3 separate regions of the Homo sapiens genome follow, and regions 1 and 2 are each linked to region 3. Evidence: promoter capture Hi-C in 16 types of primary human blood cells and fetal thymus (Javierre and others, 2016). All regions are on one chromosome and are shown on one strand. The core of a region is centred on a gene start or on the middle of the fragment in contact, and the rest is flanking DNA. Distances in the headings are between cores, read along the strand shown. Region 1 has its middle 3.6 kb from the start of IMMP2L. Region 2 holds the start of SEC61G (SEC61 translocon subunit gamma). Region 3 holds the start of FKBP14 (FKBP prolyl isomerase 14).

Region 1 (4,597 bases), core at 1,566-4,065, about 82 Mb before region 3:
ACCATGGAAAAGTACAAAGAACTCCCCTCATCATCTAGATTCAATAATTATCCATTTTATTTTCTTATTTATGCTATCTCTTTTTCTTCCTTCTTTTTTTTTATGTTGAAGTATAAAGTAAATTCCAGAGAGTATGTCATTTAACTTCAACATACTTCAGAATGCCTCTCCAAAAATTATGGACATTTTCTTACATAATCACAATGCCATTATTACACCTAATAAAATAATATTTCTTTGGTATCATCTAACACCAGTCCATAGTTAAATGTCCGTGATTGTCTTACAAGTCTTTATAGTTGTGATGTTTCAATCAGGATCCAAATAAAGGTTCACATCTTACATTTCATGGCTGTATTTTTTTTAACCTAGGCTTCTCCTGACCCATTCCCTCTCCTGTGTGTCCAGTTATTAACTTGTTGTAGAGACTACATCAATTGTCCTAGAGAGTGTCCTCCATTCTACTCCATTCTAGATTTACCTGTTTCCTTCTTTGTGGCATCTTTTTTTCTTTTTTTTTGAGACAGGGTCTCACCCTGTCATCCAGGCTGGAGTGCAGTGGTGCCATCTTGGCTCACTGTAACCTCCGCTTCCCGGGTTCAAGCGATTCTCCTGCCTCAGCCTCCTGAGTAGCTGGGATTATAGGCACGCACCACCATGCCTGGCTCATTGTTTATTTTTAGTAGAGACAGGGTTTCACCATGTTACCCAGGGTGGTCTTGAACTCCTGGCCCCAAGTGATCCACCTTCCTCGACCTCCCAAAGTGCTGGGATTATAGGTGCGAGCCACTGCGCCCAGCCTCTTTGTGGTGTCATTTAACTTATTCCTGTAACCCTCATGTTTTTTGTAAGCCTGTAAGTGAGAAGTCAGTTTTAAGGCTTGATTAGATCCCATTCATGTTTTTTGGGTGATAACATTTCATAGTTGTGCTGAGTGCTTCAGATGGCATTAGATCAGGAAGCACACAATGTCTGGAGTCCCACTTGTAATGACAGATTATTAGGCTGAGGTAGTGACGGTCTGATCTCCATTGTGAAGTTCCTCATGAACATTTCATCTGTTGGTTTGATCCATTGATGATGGTTGCCTGAATCATTTATTAAATGCAAGATTGCTAAATGGTGGGTTTCCAATTCTGTTGTTTCATATTTATTATAAAAAACAACTTTCCCTCAACACCAATTTGGTTTTCTGATATATAGTTTAATCAGGAAAGATACATCAGAAAATTTGAATTATTTTCTTTTAATGGACAATTTTAGAATAAGGGCTTAATGCTAGCTACTTGCAATAGTGTCCAGTGGATTTTTTTTTTCCTTTTATTGACCTCCCCTTTTTGGAACATCATTAAGAACTCATGAATTTTTATATATTCAGTATGTTTCTAACAACTGCATCCATTACTTTTTTTGATGCTTAAATTGTCCATCTTTGGCCAAAGGAGCTATTTGATATTGGTTTCTGTGTCCCTTTGACACATTTTGTTGTTAATGGATTCCCGGCTTTGTGGGACAAGTTATCCTATGCTCATCTTGTGTATAACCTGACCCAGATCTGAAGTCAGACATTTGGTTGGTCAGCTCTAGTTTCTTTTAGTTGGAAATTGTATTAAAAAACCCCAAACTGGATGATTTACATTATTTTTATTTGTAATAAAAATGAAAGGTTATATATTTAAAATTTTATTCCAAGGTAGTAAGTTTAGAATCAAGTATTTAGTTCATAAATAAAACTGTAATTGCTTGTTTTGTTTTTGTTTTAAGCTCGCTTTTAAATTATTTTTATAAAAGGGGATATACCTTGTTATAAGCATACCTAAAATTGGATTAATAACTATATACCAATCTTACATTTTTTCCAGATGGTACAATTTATATTCAAAATTTTCCAAAACGTTTGAGATGAAGGATATAAATGAAATCTCAAGTGTTTTCATATCAATTCAAATAATAATATCAATTTCATCAGAGTTGCTATAGTAAAAGCTTTTAAAAACTTTATTGAAATGTCATGGTTTGATATGAGCTGACAAATATGAGTTTTAGCTTGAAATAAGTAAAGGGCTATAATTTCAGGTGTTAACAGAAGCCTGTGTGGAAATATATGACATTCAAACAAATGAAATGCAAAAGGCCATTTGGCAGTAATTCTCCAAGTGAGGTTTGAGAACACCTAGGGGTTACTGAAACCCTTCCCGGAGCTTTGTAAGGTCCTCTCTTTTTCAACTATGAATTCGTATGACAGTTAATTTTCTTCATATCTTAGGTATAACAACATATCACAACAGCCTGAATGCAGAGGCAGAATATGAGAATCCAGTGCTCTCCTTAAGCCAGATAATAAGAGATTTATAAAATGTTAAAAATGCCACTTTTCTCTAATTTTTTGGAAAAAAAGTAGTCATTATTTATAAAAATAACTTTTACAGTAACATGTAATGGGTTTAAATTAAGCAAACACATGTCTAACATTTTTCTATCTTAAATTTTAATACAGTAAATATGGACATATATAACCCACATAAACAACAGCTCTTTAAAGTTCTCAATCATTTTTAAGAATGTAAAGAGAACTTGAGATCAAAAAGTAGTTTGAGAACTGCTACTCTATGATACCTTCTATTATTTGCTTACCAATGGTAAGTATGTATAGATAGGAATATATTTTAATATCTATATTTGTGGAATCTGTAAACTTAATTATTTTAACTTTGTTTAAATATCTCTTTGACCATTAGATTTGATGCCTAACTATAGTTTAAATTTGTACCTTAGTTAGGACTTTATGATTCATTTTCCCCTGATGGTATTAACAACAAATAGAGGTCTGCTTTAATATATAAGGAGACAAGGCAAATATATTTGAACTAGATACATAAAGCCAAATATTCAGCTTAGAATTTAATTGATAAATTAGAATAAAATAGGATGCTCTAACTGCTGCTTCTTTTTCTCATAAACTTTTTTCTCCCAAAGATCAGTTTCAGGTTCAGAGCAAAATTGAGCAGGAAGTATAGGGTTCCTATATATTCCTGTACCCCACATCTGCACAGCCTCCCTGACTATGAATATCCTGTACCAGAGCAGTATATTTGTTACAATTGATGAACTTACATTGACATCATTATCACCCAAAGTTGAGATTTTATATTAAGGCTCCCTCTTTGGGTTGTATATTTTATGGGTTTGGACAAATGTATAATGACATGCATCACCATTATCATATCATACAGAATAGTTTCACTGCCCTAAAAATCTGTGCTTCATATCCCCCTCCTCTGTGACCTCTGGCAATCACTGATCTTTTTACTGTCTCCATATGTGATGGTTAATACTGAGTGTCAGCTTGAATGTATTGAAGGATAGAAAGTATTGATCCTGGGTGTGTCTATGAGGGTGTTGCCAAGGAGATTAACATTTGAGTCAGTGGGCTGGGAAAGGCAGACCCACCTTTAATTGGGTGGGCACCATCTAATAAGCTGCCAGTGAATATAAAGCAGGCAGAAAAACATGAAAAGGAGAGACTGGCCTAGTCTCTCAGCCTACAGCTTTCTCCTGTGCTGGACGCTTACTGCCCTCAAACATCGGATTCAAAGTTCTTCAATTTTGAGACTCGGACTGGCTCTCTTGCTCCTCAAGCTTGCAGACAGCCTATTGTGGGACTTTGTCATCATGTAAGTTAATACTTAATAAACTCCTCTTTATATTTATATGTCTATCCTATTGGTTCTGTCCCTCTAGGAAACCCTGACTAATATACCATAGTTCTGCCCTTTCCAGATATTAGCTTCTTTTTAAGTACACTTGATGAATCTTAGTGATAAAATCAGGCCAGACCTAGCAACTCTTTTTGTATGTTTATTGACTTCCCAATACAATAAAGGCCATAAACACCTGTCTTTGTTGTTTATTCACCTACATTCCATCCCAGACTGTCAGTTCCTAGTGACCAGGAGCTCCATTCAATTTGGGGTCATGGTACCAAATAGTTCTTGACTGCTATTTGATGAGGGTGGTCCTGTCACCTAAGTGCTCTTGAAATTAAGTCCTTAAGCACTGGCCGAAAAGAGCTTACTTTGCAGTAATTATTTCAGTGACAAGTAAGAAAAACTGGGACATATCCCCTTCACAGGAGAGCAATTTTGCTCTCTTTAGGAAACTCTTGGAATTTTAGTTATCAGGCTATTTAAGACCCTGAGTAGATTCTTAAACCTTTAGAATAAATTTTGAACCAAGAGTGCCAGAATGTCTGTTATTTACATTAGTATTAAGTGATCTGAAAGTGCACAGAGTAGTTTGGCAGTATCTAGAGGGAGAATAGAGACAGAAATAATGAAGATACAACTGGAGGAGTAAGAAAAGGAGAAAAAAAGTATTTTATGTCTGTTCAGTATTTCTAGGTGCCACTGCTGCTAAATGCCTGGGCTTCAGCCTAGGTTGGGTTGCTCCTAGCAAAGAAAACCAGTCCCTGAGACAACGAGTATTGCCAGGGAAGACAGGCTTTAATGCAGGTGATGCTGGCAGGGAGACCAGTCTCAAACATGTCTTAGGGAGACTAAAGTTAGGGCTTTCTATAGCAGGGAATTATGGAGGGGTA
Region 2 (4,544 bases), core at 162-2,661, about 25 Mb before region 3:
TGTCAACTCAGACATTTGGTGGTTGGGGTGAACTTGCCAACATGTGATTTTATGTTTTTTTGGAATGAATTATTTTTTTGAAAATTATTTATTGAGCATTTACTGTGTTTAGCACTTTACTAGATGCTATATTATACCCACTTGGAGCTTATGGTCTAGTAAGGGGATTTACAGTGTAGGGAGACAGACCGAGGAATAAATAAATAAATGTTAATACAAATGCTATGCAGCAAATGAAGAAGGTATTGTGAAAAAGGAAAAAAGAGCATGAGATAGACAGGATTGCCTTAGATGGTCACTATAGGCCTCTAAGGAGATGACACATGGGCTGAAGTCCCAGGGATGAAGAACTAGTCAAACGCATCTCAGTCTGTTCAGAATTTAAAAGTGACTCTTAAAGCTAAGGCAAGGTATGTGTAGTGTGTATGGACCACCTACAGTCAGATATACGGAGGTGTGTGACCTCTAACCCTGACCCACTGAATCAATATCTGGAGGTTCTGGGGTTACAAATTTCATTTACTAAAAAACTTAACAGGAGATTTCAGTTACTGAAGAAGTTTAAGAAGCACTGAGAGTTGTAACACGTCTTAATGTTCCATCAGCTCTTCCTGAGTTATATTGTTCCTCAGATCCCGTTATGCTCCATTGCTAAAAGGAAACATGGCCGGGCGCGGTGGCTCACGTCTGTAATCCCAGCACTTTGGGAGGCCGAGGCGGGTGGATCGCGAGGTCAGGAGTTCAAGACCAGCCTGGCCAATATGGTGAAACCCCGTCTCTACTGACGGTTTCAGCCATCCGGCGGGGGGTTCCTGGAATGCATCCTTGTGGGTAAGTGGGGAGCTGTGTGTACATTATGACCACTCCCGTAACCAAACCTAGCGTTTGACAAAGGCCTCAATTACAGCGGCATTCATTACCGTGAATGACAGCCAAAGTCAAAGTTTGGGGTGGGGATACTATTTTGAATTAGGCCATAACATTATATTGCTCATAAGCTTCATTTCGACCAACATTATATACATACAAAAAGTATGTACCGTAAGGACACACATCAAGCTGGACCGCAGGAAAAAAAACCACAACTTAGGATTTACCTAGTCAGCCGCTACTAGAGAGCAAGCACCGCGCAAGGCCGCTGGGGCTCGTGCTGTGGACGTGAGTGGGTTGAGGTCGGGCTGGTGGGGTAACCCGGGATCCAGCCGGAAAAAAGGGATAACGCTAGACTCACACTCCTAAGGAAGGCCAACGCCCCAACTAGCGAGCTCCGCAATGCATCTCTTCCAGGAAGCGTGGCCGGGCGCACGTCGCGCTGCGCTTGCGCACTGAGGTTTCGCGTAAGGAACCAATAGGACGGAGGAGTGGGCGGGCTGTTGGCAGAAACCCGGATTCCGGTTCCGGTGGGCCTCCATCAGCAAGCTCCAGTGCTACGTGTCCCTGGCATTTTAGGTGTCGGTTGGGTAGGTGAGTTTCTTCCCACCGGTCGGTACGGGCGAACGGGGCGGCCACACCTTTGCGACTCTTGGGGGCAGCGGGCGTGGGCGAGCCGGCGTGTCTCCCCGGGCGGCCGTCGCGGGGCGGGCGGTAAGTGGTCCCCTGGCTCAGGGCCGGGGTCTGGCCGCCGACATCCCACCAACTCGGCCTCTGGCGGAAGGCAGACCCAGGGCCGCGGACTCCCGGCGAGCTGGGTGGCCGGCCCGCGGGGCTCCAGGGCTTAGCGTCCTGCCCCGGCGTCTTCTGTGCTGCAGCCAAAGATGATGTCCTGCTGCCCGATCCCTTCGGGGTTGGCTCTGTGTGCTGTTGTGGAGTCCTGTCTGGGAAGAGCTGTACTCAGCTCTGGTCCTGCCGCCGCTTCCGTGGTTTAAAGTGAGAGCATTGGTCTAGAGTCTAGTTCGAGAGATCATAGTTGGTTTTTGGATCTCTACCCCTGACATTGAGTGCGGTATTGTGTGTAGCGTGCGTTTTTCTGGATAAAGAATTCTTAGCTTCCTTCGTGACAACTATGATTACAAAAAGTTTAAGCCCTTTGGATTTCAAGAGCAAAGTTGAGTGAAATACTGAGAAAACAGACATTACTGTGTTTTTGCCCCCAGAACGTTGCAGAATTCCTGGTGTTTCATTGACATTATTTCATTTCGTTGTCCACACCCTACACTAAGGAAGGCAACTGGGGCTTACAGAGGTTTACATTCCATAGCCAGTGATTTGAACTACCACCTGGCCACTGTTCTGAGTACTGGAAATGGAGGAAAATACAAATAACACCCTGGCTGCTTTACTTACTATAGCAGTGGCTCTCAAAGCTAAGATCGGATAACATTTCTATTGGGTAATAGATTCCTCAAAAGAACCTGTATGGTAAAATATATAGCCCTGTTTCCTTAAAAGATGTGTTCAAATCGAAAAGTTTGAAATTTAGCTAGTAGCTTCTCAGAATTTGCGTCTTCCTTTAGCCATTCTTTATACTTTAGAAAAGTATGTTGTATTGGCACGTTTTAGAAAAATCAAGGTTGAAATTCACGTTTGCCTCTATTCTAGGCTCTTGCAGCACCGTAGTTGGCATTCACTGTACAAGACACTGGCTTCTGCGTAGTTTAAAATAAAATATGGAAAGTAATTGTTGGATCTCAACACTGATGGTTCCTTAGGAGCGGTGAGGGGACTGTAGAATGAGAAATGGATGGGACTGCAGAGTGAGAAAAGGAATGGATGTGTTACCAATTGCGTAACCTTTTTTAACCTTTTAATAGAGATAGGCTTTTTATATTGCGTGTGCTGTTCTTTGTCAGTGAAGATATCATGAGTAAGATCTGTGCTTTTCTTATTGCCTTTGATAATTAACTGAAATTTCCAAAAATAATATCAATTTAGGCTTTGGAGTTTGTTTTTTGTTTTATTTTAGGAGGTGGAATTGACCCATGTTAGACGTGAATTCAGTGGCTGGTCTCATTTACATCTTTATATAAATGAGCAAGTGCTTATTGTATGAGAACCAATACCAGTGAGTATCTTTTTTGTTTTAAACAGGCAGTCATGGATCAGGTAATGCAGTTTGTTGAGCCAAGTCGGCAGTTTGTAAAGGACTCCATTCGGCTGGTTAAAAGATGCACTAAACCTGATAGAAAAGGTAATTGCTTGACTATGAGAGAAAAAATTAAATCTTTGCATTTTCTAAGCCTTTTGTTTGATTAACATCTTGATTAATAGCCCTTGCATTACTTTGATCAACATTTTTATTGATTGATCCTGCGCGACAGCTTTTTAACGTTGTCACTTCTTCCTAAATTTTTTACTCGTCTAAATTTTTATGTATTTTCAAATGGTGTAAGATTATTTATTACAGCCTTATGTTCCATGTAACATTTTAGTTAGTAACATTTTATGACTTTTAGTATCTTACATATTTTCTCTTTGGAAAAGCTTTGAAGTCTCCCTACTCAGCTCCCACCCCAACGAACAAAACCTTAACATGAAACCAACAATATAGTTTTTGCCAAACTAGAAAGTTAATTTTGTTATTTATCATGATTCATGTGTTAAATTTGTCTACTTTTATTCATTCATTGAGTTAGGAGCTGGTAATATAATAGAGAATATAACATGTATATAATATAGTATATAGTATATAATATAGTATATAGTATATAGTATATATAGTATATAGTATATATATAGTATAGTATATAGTATATAATATAGTATATAACATGTATATATTATAGTAAAGAGAATAGTCCTTGCTGTCATGGAGCTTAGACTCTTACCAAGGAAGACTGTCATAAACAAATTATTGCGGTTATATTTTTTAATTACTGCTGTGTTAAGTATTATGGAAGATAACTAGAAGGAAGTTTGACAGCACATAATAGGAGGACTAACCAAGTCAGGAGATCAGGGAAAGCTTCTCTTAGGAAGTAACATAAAATGACAACATTACCAGTGTAATGTTTTATAAAATTGTGCTCAACTCAGACAGAGTCTCACTCTGTTGCCCAGGCTGAAGTGCAGTGACGCGATCTCGGCTCACTGCAACCTCCGCCTCCTGGGTTCAAGCAATTCTGCCTCAGCCTCCTGAGTAGCTGGGATTACAGGCATGCGCCACCACGCCCGGCTAATTTTTGTATTTTTAGTGGAGCCAGGGTTTCACCATGTTGGCCAGGCTGGTCTTAAACTCCTGACCTCGGGTGATCTGCCCACTTCGGCCTCCCAAAGTGCTGAGATTACAGGCACAAGCCACTGGGCCCAGCCCAGTTTGATTTTTCAAGTCTTATTTTTGGCTTCATCATAATAGCAAAGGCACCGGACCCATCGTTTATAATGTACCCAAAAAAGGTATGTTTCTGCCCATATAATTGATATGTTATGATAAAAATTACAATGTTACATTTTAAAACTTAAGAAAAATAATGTATATTTCTTTCATCCATGACCTTTTTTTGTTTTTGGTATTTTCTGGTCATTTGCTAAGAAGAAAAAATATTTTTAGTACTTGCTGATGAACTCACTAGGACAGATATGCATTATTATTTGTTTCCTTAAATATC
Region 3 (4,860 bases), core at 224-2,723:
CGTTTGAGGGTCTACGTGACCTCTCACGATACCTCCTGAGTTCTAGTCCCTATTCTTGTTCCAAAGCTGCCTAATTGATCTCACACACTTGAGGTAACCAATAACAGGGCGTAAAGAGATTATTGGAATTTCAGGGTAGAATACTATGAGGCCAGTGTAAACAGATGTTGTCCAGACTCTAAGGTCTCACTATGGAAGTGTTGATCTACTGACCCGGAGCACTGACATCACCTAAGAGCTTGTTAGAAATGCAGAATCTTGCACCCACCCCAGACCTCCAGATCAAAATCTGCATTTTAAACAAGATCTTCAGGGGGATTCCTATGCACATAGAGTGCGGATATGCACTGTGTTAAGGTTATTAGACCAGAAAAAATGTTAACTACAGATTAAGTGGAAAGAGGAGGTGAGAAAAGACTACAATACGATTTAAATCGCTTTAAGTATATGTCACAGAAGCATGCACCAAAATATTAAGAGGATTGTTTGCGGCTGGTGGTGGTATCGGCGAGCTTTCTTTTTCTTTAAAGTTGCCTGATTTAGTAAATAAAAATGCAAAACCATTATTCGTTATGTATCTGAAATTCCAACTTGATTCGACTCCCCAATATTATCTGGAAATCTTACTTTAGTGCTTTCCAATTTCTTCCAAAATGACTTCAATGAACATGCATTACTTTTGAACTTAGGCAAAAAATGTAAAACTAGAAAATGTAAACTACGATGAGGCTGTGTAATTCGTAACCATGATTACCATTTCTTCTTTAAAGCGGAAGTCTGCAAGTCGAAACTCATTATTTACCCTGTAAGGTAACTTAAGGGATAAATTATTAGCAGCCATAACATGACGTGGTGCTGTGGAATGAATCAGACCTGGTTTGAAGGCAGAGCTCATTTGCTTCGGGGCCAAACAACCTTAAGCAGGACAGTTAATATCTCCTGGTGTAAATTTACTTCTCTTTTAAATGGGAAAAAAGAACCTGCCTTACTGGGTGTAGTGAGGTTCATGCAACGGGAACGCGCTTTGTGAACCCTCAAGCAGTATGTCAGTCTTTACAGTTTATAAGCAATAGCAAAATCCTAGGATTGTGGCATCTTGGGGGGCCGCTCTCCAACGGCGAGAGTAAACGAGTCTTTCCTGGAACCCCGAAGATTTCATAGGGCCCCGGGACTCTTCCTACGTCTCTCAGCAGGGTTCTTCACAGAGATAAATCAGCCGGAGGAGTTTCCGGTTGGCTCTGCGCCCCGCCCCTCTCCCAAAATCCACGCTGGTTGAATGCTGAAATCCACCGGGCTCTAGGACCACAAGGGATGATCCGCCGCTTGGCAGCTGCCCGGCTCTACCGGGCTGTAAATTCCATCGTTGCAGCGTCATTGGCTTGAGAGCTGCCTGAAGGACAGCACCAATAGCCAATGGGAGGCTGCTATTCCCAGGCGGCCGCGTTATAAGAGCCAGTCAGGCCGGCATTTGGGCTTAACTCTTTAAAGGTAGGTTCGTGACCCTTGAGAAAAGAGTTGGTGGTAAATGTGCCACGTCTTCTAAGAAGGGGGAGTCCTGAACTTGTCTGAAGCCCTTGTCCGTAAGCCTTGAACTACGTTCTTAAATCTATGAAGTCGAGGGACCTTTCGCTGCTTTTGTAGGGACTTCTTTCCTTGCTTCAGCAACATGAGGCTTTTCTTGTGGAACGCGGTCTTGACTCTGTTCGTCACTTCTTTGATTGGGGCTTTGATCCCTGAACCAGAAGTGAAAATTGAAGTTCTCCAGAAGCCATTCATCTGCCATCGCAAGACCAAAGGAGGGGATTTGATGTTGGTCCACTATGAAGGCTACTTAGAAAAGGACGGCTCCTTATTTCACTCCACGTAAGTAATTATGCCCCGCAGGTAAAATAGTAATTAAGAATCCACTCACTTATGCCAGCTCTCCAGCAGGAAAGGTGGCCTGTACCTGGTTTTGCCTCTTTTACAAAACCGAAATATCTTATTTCCTTCTTTGGGAAAGGAAATTGTTTAAAGCCAGTTTTATATAGCGAGCGAGGCCTTTGAAGGTCTTGTTGGAAACATGTGGTCTGGAAAAGGCTGTTAATTTTTTTTATTATACAAATTAGAACTAGAATCTTTGAAATATTGCAGAAATATATCTGGGTGTATAATTGGCCAATAAGTAGAAAAAGCCCAAAAGAATTCTCATATCTCAAACTCCATTTCTTAAAGAAAATGACTTGATTCCATTTTTAATGTGGTGTAGGTGATGTTCACCTAAAACTTTTCACAGCGACTTCAAAAGCAAACTACACTATCACTTATTTGCCTGTTGAAGGATATACTAATGCCGTTTCACTGACCTACTTCTTTTGTTCTGACGAATGGTATTTTGGTCAAGGCACAGGACCATGATTTCAGTCATTTGCTTCTTTCTAGAGAGTCAGACTTCATTGATGAGGTGGGTGTGGTTTTGGAAGTCTAGGTGAAGGATTTTCAGGTGGTTACACTATCATTTCTGTTCTATAAACGAAGAAATTGGAACATGGAAATGGTTTACAGCCTAATGATTTTCAATTAGGCATCGGTTCCATTCATTCCATTATGACAGTATTTAGTGAGCATTTCCTTGATGTTAAGCCATGTTCTGGGTGCTAGGAAGATTCAGAAATTTTGGCTTCTAATCATCTTCATCTATTCATTAGTCTGTCCATCTATCAAACTCTTATTGAATGGTCACAAGTCAGGTCCTGGAGACGCAAAGATGGCTAGAAGCAGGTTCTTGTCCTCTAACAGTATACACCATCTACAGGTGGGAGAAAGACAAGTAAATAATGCAATGATATAGGGTACAGAATATTCAAAGTGCTAGCAAAGCGTAACTGGGCCTGAAGTAGTTAGGCTCCATGGGGTGGGGAAAGGGAAAGACTTCCCAGAGACCATAATTGAAATGAACCTTGGAAGATGGGTGGAGGTTTCCAGGGGGAAAGTAGGGAAGGATGTTGTAGGTAGAGGGAATAACATGAATTAAAACAGTAAATCTTCATAGCCCATCCTCCACCTGATTTTCTAATAAACTGCCTTTACTGGGCATTCAGACCTGGTCTGTCTTGAGGGTTGGGGAAATGAATGGGGCTCTTCTCTAAACTGTTAGCCCTGGGAAAAAGTTCCAGAAAAATGGCTTGCCTTAGAATTCTCAACAGCCCTTTCTTCTTGTCAACTAGGTGAGTGCCACGGTGGATATTAAATGATGTGATTTGCATTTTGAAAATTCAGTTATATTGTTATTTTTAGTCTGATCTCTTTTAGACTCAGCCTGACTTCTTTCAGATTTCTGAACCAAAAACCTGTGCTGACTTTGGTGGTAGCCATGGAATATTATTTAGCAGTTTGCTACTAAGTTCTAATACCTGATGAGGGGACTGTTATCATGCAGCCTCCATGTAAATGGTCAGAAGCTGCTAACTGTAAACTTCATGAAGAAATACCATCAAATTGGCTGGGCGTGGTGGCTCACGCCTGTAATCCCAGCACTTTGGGAGGCCGAGGCAGGCAGATCGCGAGGTCAGGAGTTTGAGACCATCCTGGCCAACATGGTGAAACCCCGTCTCTACTAAAAATACAAAAGTTATCTGGGCGTGGTGGGCACCTGTAATCCCAGCTACTCAGGAGGCTGAGGCAGGAGAATCGCTTGAACCCAGGAGGCGGAGGCTGCAGTGAGCCAAGATTGCGCCGCTGCACTCCAGCCTGGGCAACAGAGCGAGACTCCGCTCTGAAGAAAAAGAAATACCATCAAATGATCAGTTTGTAAGCACGTTTGCCATCTCTAGAACCATAGCCTATGGGATAAATTGCTTAGCCCTAAGAAGAACTGTGCTAAAATTGTAGTCAGTGATGAGTAGTAGAATGTTTCCTGCTTCTTTTTTCATTTCTAGCCTTCCCAAATTTTCTACAGTTGGCATTTTGTTACTTTGATCATTGGGCAAAATTACAGGAAAAAATGGCATTACCCAGATTTAGTAACCATGGTACTCATGAAGCGTAGTACAGTGACTTCTTTTTCTCACCTACAAGATATCCTTGAATAGAATATTTTCCTTATTGCACTGAAAGGGAGCTAGGTAGGGATCAGGCATTACTCAGCCCTTAAGCCTCCCTGTATGTAGTTCGGCAGGTTGGTTTTCCTAGGCTAGACTCTCTTCAACTCATGAGCCAGGACATTCTATTTCCCTCGTCCCCAGTTGATAGGGTTCCGCTATGGCCCCACCCAATTCTCATCTTAAATTGTAGCTACCATAATCCCCACATGTTGTGGAAGGGACCTGGTGGGAGGTAATCGAATCATGAGGGCAGGTTTTTCCCATGCTGTTCTCCTTGTGATAGTAAATAAGTCTCACGAGATCTGATGGTTTTATAAAAGGCAGCTCCTCTGCACACTCATTCTTGCCTGCTACCATGTAAGACGTGCCTTTGCTCCTCCTTTGCCTTCCGCCATGATTGTGAGACCTCCCCAGCCATGTGGAACCGCGAGTCCATTAAACCTCCTTTTCTTTATAAGTTACCCAGTCTTGAATATTTCTTCATAGCAGTATGAAAATGGACTAACACACCAGTCCTTGAGGGGCTACTCTTCCAGACTTTCCTATATAGCCCCACTGTAGACCCCTGAGGAGGAAACTGGGCTAGGGTCTGAGTGGGGATTTAGGGATGAAAAGCAGCCTTTTCTACCCGTCAGAGCCATCAGCAGGCCATAGCTAAGGCAAGTTTGTAGGCAGGATATAAGACACTGTGCTTCTCACTCTTCATATCTGTGTGCATATGGACCCACATATGTTGGCAGTAAATTCTCCTTAGCCTTTCAATCTCCTTCCCAAACTC

What was found. The method cuts DNA at HindIII sites, captures the fragments that hold promoters and counts their contacts. A CHiCAGO score of 5 or more calls a contact.
Region 1: a fragment that was not itself captured here is called in contact with the fragment with the promoter of FKBP14 in region 3 in 1 of 17 cell types (activated CD4 T cells); the score reaches 7.3 in activated CD4 T cells.
Region 2: a contact is called between the fragment with the promoter of SEC61G here and the fragment with the promoter of FKBP14 in region 3, in 1 of 17 cell types (total CD4 T cells). The highest score is 8.6, in total CD4 T cells.

What each region holds. Positions count from the first base shown.
Region 1 is chr7:111,563,760-111,568,356 of GRCh38, reverse strand. No RefSeq gene overlaps it. Among named protein-coding and RNA genes, the nearest start is that of IMMP2L, 3.6 kb to the right of the region's middle. The HindIII fragment of the contact is 1,653 bases long and covers 1,989-3,641 here.
Region 2 is chr7:54,756,078-54,760,621 of GRCh38, reverse strand. It overlaps SEC61G (SEC61 translocon subunit gamma), which reads left to right and starts at 1,411. Exons shown (of 4, transcript NM_014302.4): 1 at 1,411-1,464; 2 at 3,028-3,127. The coding sequence starts at 3,034. SEC61G-DT (SEC61G divergent transcript) reads right to left here and starts at 1,309. Exons shown (of 3, transcript NR_110040.1): 1 at 1,098-1,309. RefSeq lists an enhancer at 273-1,208 and a silencer at 1,442-1,761. The HindIII fragment of the contact is 2,422 bases long and covers 1,001-3,422 here.
Region 3 is chr7:30,023,315-30,028,174 of GRCh38, reverse strand. FKBP14 (FKBP prolyl isomerase 14) reads left to right here and starts at 1,473. Exons shown (of 4, transcript NM_017946.4): 1 at 1,473-1,863. The coding sequence starts at 1,667. It overlaps FKBP14-AS1 (FKBP14 antisense RNA 1), which reads right to left. Exons shown (of 3, transcript NR_187577.1): 3 at 934-2,788. RefSeq lists an enhancer at 1,068-1,217. The HindIII fragment of the contact is 9,298 bases long and covers 1-4,860 here.